2 separate regions of the Homo sapiens genome follow, and region 2 is linked to region 1. The links are contacts of gene promoters, found by promoter capture Hi-C in blood cells and fetal thymus (Javierre and others, 2016). All regions are on one chromosome and are shown on one strand. Each heading gives the region's core, a stretch centred on a gene start or on the middle of the fragment in contact. The rest is flanking DNA. Distances are from core to core; before and after follow the strand shown.

Region 1 (3,114 bases), core at 163-2,662:
CTCCCAAAATGCTGGGATTACAGGCATGAGTCACCGTGCCCGGCCCATCCTGGTTGTCTTGTTTGTTTTTGAGACAAGGTGTCTGTTGCCGAGTGGCACAGAGTGCAGTGGCACAATCATAGCTCACTGCACCCTCAACCTCCTGGGCTCAAGTGACCCTCCGGCCTCAGCCTCCCAAAGCACTGAGATGACATGCGTGATGAGCCACTGCACCCAGCCATGCTGGAAGCTTTTGAATACAACATGCTGCAGGCATCACAGCCTCATTCATTCCTTCACTCAGCAAATCTTTACTCAGCACCTAATGTGTTCCAGATACATTTTTTTTTTTCAGATGGAATCTAGCTCTGTCACCCAGGCTGGAGTGCAGTGGTGCAATCTTGGCTCACTGTAGCCTCTGCCTCCGAGGTTCAAGCGATTCTCATGCCTCAGCCGCCCTAGTAGCTAGGATTACAGGCGCCCTCCACCACACACAGCTATTTCCAGGTACATTCTTGACGCTAGGAATTCAGCAAAGAATAAGACAGTTAAGGTCTCCGATGCTCATAGGCCTCACATTTTAGAGAGGGATGAATGTCCAATAAGCATATAAACGTATAATATGTCAGGGTCGTATGACTACAAGGAACAGTGATTGTTACAACCCAGATGAGAGGGAAAAATAAAGGATTCCAAATATCCCCCTTGGGAAGTAGAGTCAGGATTCAAACAAAGAACTGTATGGCTTCAAGTTCATGGTCTTTAATCTCCTGGAGGCTGTCTCTCTTTCTTTTTTCTTTTTTTTAATCAGTGTTGGGATCAAATTCTGGCTCCCCTAGGAAGCATCTGGCAAGGTTTCGGGAGCCATCGGGTTGGCCATGTTATGCTGGAATATTTATAAGCACCGGAGGGTTATCCCCATGTCGTAGAAAATGAAACTGAAGCTCAGAGAGATTTGCACTCTCTGCCCTTTTGTACAACTCATTTTTCCCCAGTATGTGGAATTGAGGGAGCTTCACGCTTCTAGCTGTCATGATTCCAAGATTCTACGACATGTGGGAGAGGATCCTAAGGTTCGGGGAACCGCGGAGGTTTCGGGGTTCTAGAAATCCGAGGTTCTAAGCCTAGGTGCTCCAATAAACCCAGTGAGAGCCAGCCCAGGTTTCCGGTCTGTACCCGCTGGTGCAAGCCCAGAGACAAGCAGGCGCCACCCATGAGCCCCTCTGCGGCCCCCTCCCGGGTCCCACCTCGCAGGCCAGCTGGAGGGCGCGATCCTGGCGTCCCCCGACGGCCTGGGGCCCCAATCCAGAGGCCTGGGTGGGAGGGGACCAAGGGTGTAGTAAGGAAGCGCCTTTTGCTGGAGGGCAACGGACCGGGGCGGGGAGTCGGGAGACCAGAGTGGGAGGAAGGCGGGGAGTCCAGGTTCCGCCCCGGAGCCGACTTCCTCCTGGTCGGCGGCTGCAGCGGGGTGAGCGGCGGCAGCGGCCGGGGATCCTGGAGCCATGGGGCGCGCGCGCGACGCCATCCTGGATGCGCTGGAGAACCTGACCGCCGAGGAGCTCAAGAAGTTCAAGCTGAAGCTGCTGTCGGTGCCGCTGCGCGAGGGCTACGGGCGCATCCCGCGGGGCGCGCTGCTGTCCATGGACGCCTTGGACCTCACCGACAAGCTGGTCAGCTTCTACCTGGAGACCTACGGCGCCGAGCTCACCGCTAACGTGCTGCGCGACATGGGCCTGCAGGAGATGGCCGGGCAGCTGCAGGCGGCCACGCACCAGGGTGAGCCGCCCCCGTTCCCCTCCACCCCGTCTTTCCCCTCCACCCACACCAGCGCTTACCCCGCGGGCTCTTCCGCTTTCTGTTCCTCCTACCCCTAAACAAAGCTGCTCTACCGGAAAGGAGGCTCCCCACGCTTGGCCTACCGACCAACGGGACCCCGGCCCCACGGCGGGAAGGGAAGGGAAGGGGATCACTTGGCCCATATCCTTCCAGGCTCTGGAGCCGCGCCAGCTGGGATCCAGGCCCCTCCTCAGTCGGCAGCCAAGCCAGGTGAGGCCTCCACACCCAGCCCGGCCCCACCGCACTCCTGCACAGCCTGCATCTGTGCTCCCGCAACCAGGGCAGGGCAGGGCAGGGCAGGCACGGCTTGGCAACCCTGCGCACCCCACCCACCAACCCACACCCTGCGGGGGAAGGGAGACAATATTACCCTCATCCCACTGCATGTGGGGTCCTGGTGGCCGCCCCCTGGAGCCCTGCCCCTAGGCTTGCAGAGGAATTCCTGAAGAACTCAAGTTCAGCAGGGACAGGCCCCACACCCTGGCTGCTGGCTCATGTTCTCCTCCCACCCCCAGGCCTGCACTTTATAGACCAGCACCGGGCTGCGCTTATCGCGAGGGTCACAAACGTTGAGTGGCTGCTGGATGCTCTGTACGGGAAGGTCCTGACGGATGAGCAGTACCAGGCAGTGCGGGCCGAGCCCACCAACCCAAGCAAGATGCGGAAGCTCTTCAGTTTCACACCAGCCTGGAACTGGACCTGCAAGGACTTGCTCCTCCAGGCCCTAAGGGAGTCCCAGTCCTACCTGGTGGAGGACCTGGAGCGGAGCTGAGGCTCCTTCCCAGCAACACTCCGGTCAGCCCCTGGCAATCCCACCAAATCATCCTGAATCTGATCTTTTTATACACAATATACGAAAAGCCAGCTTGAACTTGTGTGTTTTCCTGCTTCTAGCCTGCTGGCATGTGCAGAGCTCAGCTATGCTTCAGAGGCCACCCAGCCTCCAGCTCCATGTCCCTAGGGTCTCTGGCACCCCAAATGCTTCCCCCATCCTTCCTGGTATCGCCATGGAATATCCCTCCTCATTCACCAGGTGGTGCTCCTCCAGTGCTCCCTAAAGGGTCTAACCTTACCATTATAGATAACAGCCTGTGACCCAGGTCCGAAGGTTAAAAGAGGCATGTACCAAAGGGCGCAAACTGGTGGGCAGCTCTGTCCAAGCCATTTAGAAACACACTAGTCTTCATAGCTCCCCTACCTTCCACATTTTCCACTGGAGAAAAATGCAGAATTAGAGAAATTTGCAGGGGGAGACACATTAGAGCATTATCTAAACATAGGACAGAAGAGCACAAGTCA
Region 2 (3,114 bases), core at 251-2,750, 520 kb before region 1:
CTACCATTTCTGACAACATGGATGAATGAACCAGGTGGAACTATGGTAATTGAATAAGATAGAGAAATACAAATACTGTATAATATCAGTTATTTGTGGAATCTAAAAAAAGGTGAGTTCATAGAAGTAAAGTGTAGAACGGGTCCCAACAGCTGACAGGTGGTAAAACTGGGGAGATACTGGTCAAAGAGTACAAACTTTCATTTAAAAGATAAATTCTGGGGATCTAATGTAAAGCATTATGAATATAGTTTACAATACTCATATATACTTGAGATTTGCTAACACAGTAGATCTTTTTTTTTTTTCTTTTTTTTTTGAGACGGAGTCTTGCTCTCTGTCACCCAGGCTGGAGTGCAGTGGCGCGATCTCGGCTCACTGCAAGCTCCGCCTCCCAGGTTCACACCATTCTCCTGCCTCAGACTCCAGAGTAGCTGGGACTACAGGCACCCGCCACCACGCCCGGCTAATTTTTTTTTTGTATTTTTTAGTAGAGACGGGGTTTCATCGTGTTAGCCAGGATGGTCTCAATCTCCTGACCTCATGATCCGCCTGCATCGGCCTCCCAAAGTGCTGGGATTACAGGCGTGAGCCACCGCGCCCGGCCCACAGTAGATCTTTAATGTTCTCTCCACAAAAAACCTGGCAACTATGTGAGATGATTAATATGTTAATTAATTTATTTGTATTAATCAATACACAATGTATACATATATAAAATCAAACGATCAGGATGCACCTCTTAAATATATATAATTTACAAGTGTGGGAAAAAAATCCACATGAAAGAAGGAAGGAAAAGAAAAAAGAAAAGGAAAAGAAAGAAAACGAACATAAAGAACACATTCTCATTAAGCTTCACAGTTAACCAGACAAAATTATAAAATGTTATGAATATATAAGGTAAGAGTTGAAAGTTCACTATATACTGGACAATGTTGTAAGCTTCCCATAGACATTCATTTAGTTAAGAATTCTACATAGTAAGTAATATATTAAATGATTTTAAATCTGTGGAATTTGTGCATACAGAGATTATATTTCTAATCTTAGTTTAGGCTAGGAAAGATGAAAAGTTGAAGTGAAATACAGAATCAGATTTTTTTTTATATTTAGGAAGATGTTTTGCACTCTGATGAATTACTGAGTCTCAATTTTTGTAGGATCATCTGGGAAACCACCATAGGATTAGAAATTAATATACCAGAAAATATGTGACATCTATCCACAGAATTCCTGGGACTTCTGAAAAAAATCCTACTGTCCATCACTCGCCTCACACACTTCTGACATGAGGCAAAACCAGAACTTTAGAAGTGGTTTCACATAGAGGTAGAAACATGCACAGACTTTCCCAGAGCCCCCAAATCAATGGAAGAACAGTCAGATCACGCAGGCCCTCACAGGCCAAGGGGAGCACTTTGGCTGTCACTGTGAATTTGATGGTGGATCACAGAAGGGTAAGGAGAATAATCAGATAATTTAAGAATATGAGACAGAAGATGTCCCTCTGTGACAGCAGCAAGAGAAAGAAATAAACCCAGGTGTCTCAAAAATCATTTCCACTGGAGAACTTCCCAATCCACACTTCAAGGTCTGGTTCTTTCTTAATCTCTGGACCTCTCGCCCATGTCATCTACTTCATTCACTCCCACCTACCTGGCTGGATGGCTACTGTCTCTGCACTCTTCACATTCCAGGGCTCTTTCCTTTGCTCCAAAAAGGTGATCAGGTCCGGCTTAGAGACAGCGAGACCTGTTTTATTAGAAAAAGTCACATGACTCTTGCTGGGAGTTCTTTAATTGCCAGCTCAGTAGGATACTCAGTAAAGAGGGAACATTATAGAGGATCCTAGAAAATTACTTCCCCAAATACTGTTTCCTGTCAGCTTCTTTAGAATATTCAGGAAGCATTTTAAACACAGGAATCCTGAGCTTCACTTCCAAGTATGACTAAATCAAAAATAAGGAGAAGGAATTAGATTTTAAAGTGTGGGCAATGATAGTTTATGTCACTCAATTTTCTAGAATCACTACTAAACTAGAGTGAAGCTTCTACATCACCTCAAGAAAGAAGGCAAATGTCAAGATCAAACATTAGGAAGTCTTTTCTACAACAAACCCACAATTTTTTTTTCCTGGAAACAGGAATCTGAATTCATTCATATAAAGCATAAGCTCCCAAGTGACATTCTACAAAGGAAAGAAATAAAACCCTTAGTTATTAGATATTAGATATTCCAAAGGCAAGTTATCCTCACCCAGAGAGACCAGGTTTCCGTAGTTCTCTAACATCACATCCCCATATAAAAGCTTCTGATCTGAGTCCAGGTGTTCCCACTCCTCCCGAGAGAATTCTATGGCCACATCCCTGAATGTCAACAGTCCCTGAAATAAAAATAAATAGCACATTGACCATGTGGCCATGGGCAGAGTTCATCACTTGACAAACCAAGATGAAATAAGAGAGCTAAGAAAACTGACTGATTTATATGAGTGACCTGAAATATTCAATAAGATACTTTTAAACACAATAATATTTTCTATGTATTCTCTAACTCTGTGGAAAGAGAATGATACAAAATCCACAAAACCAGTGTAGATACTATGCCTATATGGAATATAAAGTATAAAACTAAGGCATCGAGGCCGGGCGCGGTAGCTCATACCTGTAATCTCAGCACTTTGGGATGCCGAGATGGGTGGATCACCTAAGTTCGAGACTAGCCTGGCCAACATGATGAAACCCCATCTCTACTAAAAATACAAAAAATTAGCTGGGCGTGGTGGCACATGCCTGTAATCCCAGCTACTCAGGAACCTGAGGCAGGAGAATCACTTGAACCAGGAAGTGGAGGTTGCAGTGAGCCAAGATTGCACCACTGAACTCCAGCCTGAGCAACAAGAGCGAAATTCCGTCTCAAAAAACAAAAACAAAAAAACAAAAAACAAAAAACTAACGCATCAACATAGGAGTATACATTTTTTAGTCTATATTTACATCATCCACAATCAGTTGTATATAATTCTCAGGTGGAAAAGTCATGGTGACTTAGAGGCATACTTCTGAAATTTTATTGTGTTCAGCAATAAACTGCAGAACTGGTTCAAATGC

Evidence for each region. Contacts are between HindIII fragments. The CHiCAGO score rates a contact against its expected background, and 5 or more counts as called.
Region 2: a contact is called between a fragment that was not itself captured here and the fragment with the promoter of PYCARD in region 1, in 3 of 17 cell types (erythroblasts, activated CD4 T cells and fetal thymus). The highest score is 7.3, in erythroblasts.

What each region holds. Positions count from the first base shown.
Region 1 is chr16:31,201,058-31,204,171 of GRCh38, reverse strand. PYCARD (PYD and CARD domain containing) reads left to right here and starts at 1,412. Exons shown (of 3, transcript NM_013258.5): 1 at 1,412-1,755; 2 at 1,969-2,025; 3 at 2,331-2,686. The coding sequence starts at 1,482. The coding sequence ends at 2,587. PYCARD-AS1 (PYCARD antisense RNA 1) reads right to left here and starts at 2,287. Exons shown (of 2, transcript NR_102400.1): 1 at 2,186-2,287; 2 at 720-1,712. RefSeq lists a silencer at 1,062-1,421 and enhancers at 1,532-1,761, 1,951-2,581. The HindIII fragment of the contact is 5,508 bases long and covers 232-3,114 here.
Region 2 is chr16:31,721,899-31,725,012 of GRCh38, reverse strand. It overlaps KRABD5 (KRAB domain containing 5), which reads right to left. Exons shown (of 5, transcript NM_001130913.2): 2 at 2,261-2,387; 3 at 1,660-1,755. Among named protein-coding and RNA genes, the nearest start is that of KRABD5, 10 kb to the right of the region's middle. The HindIII fragment of the contact is 1,106 bases long and covers 948-2,053 here.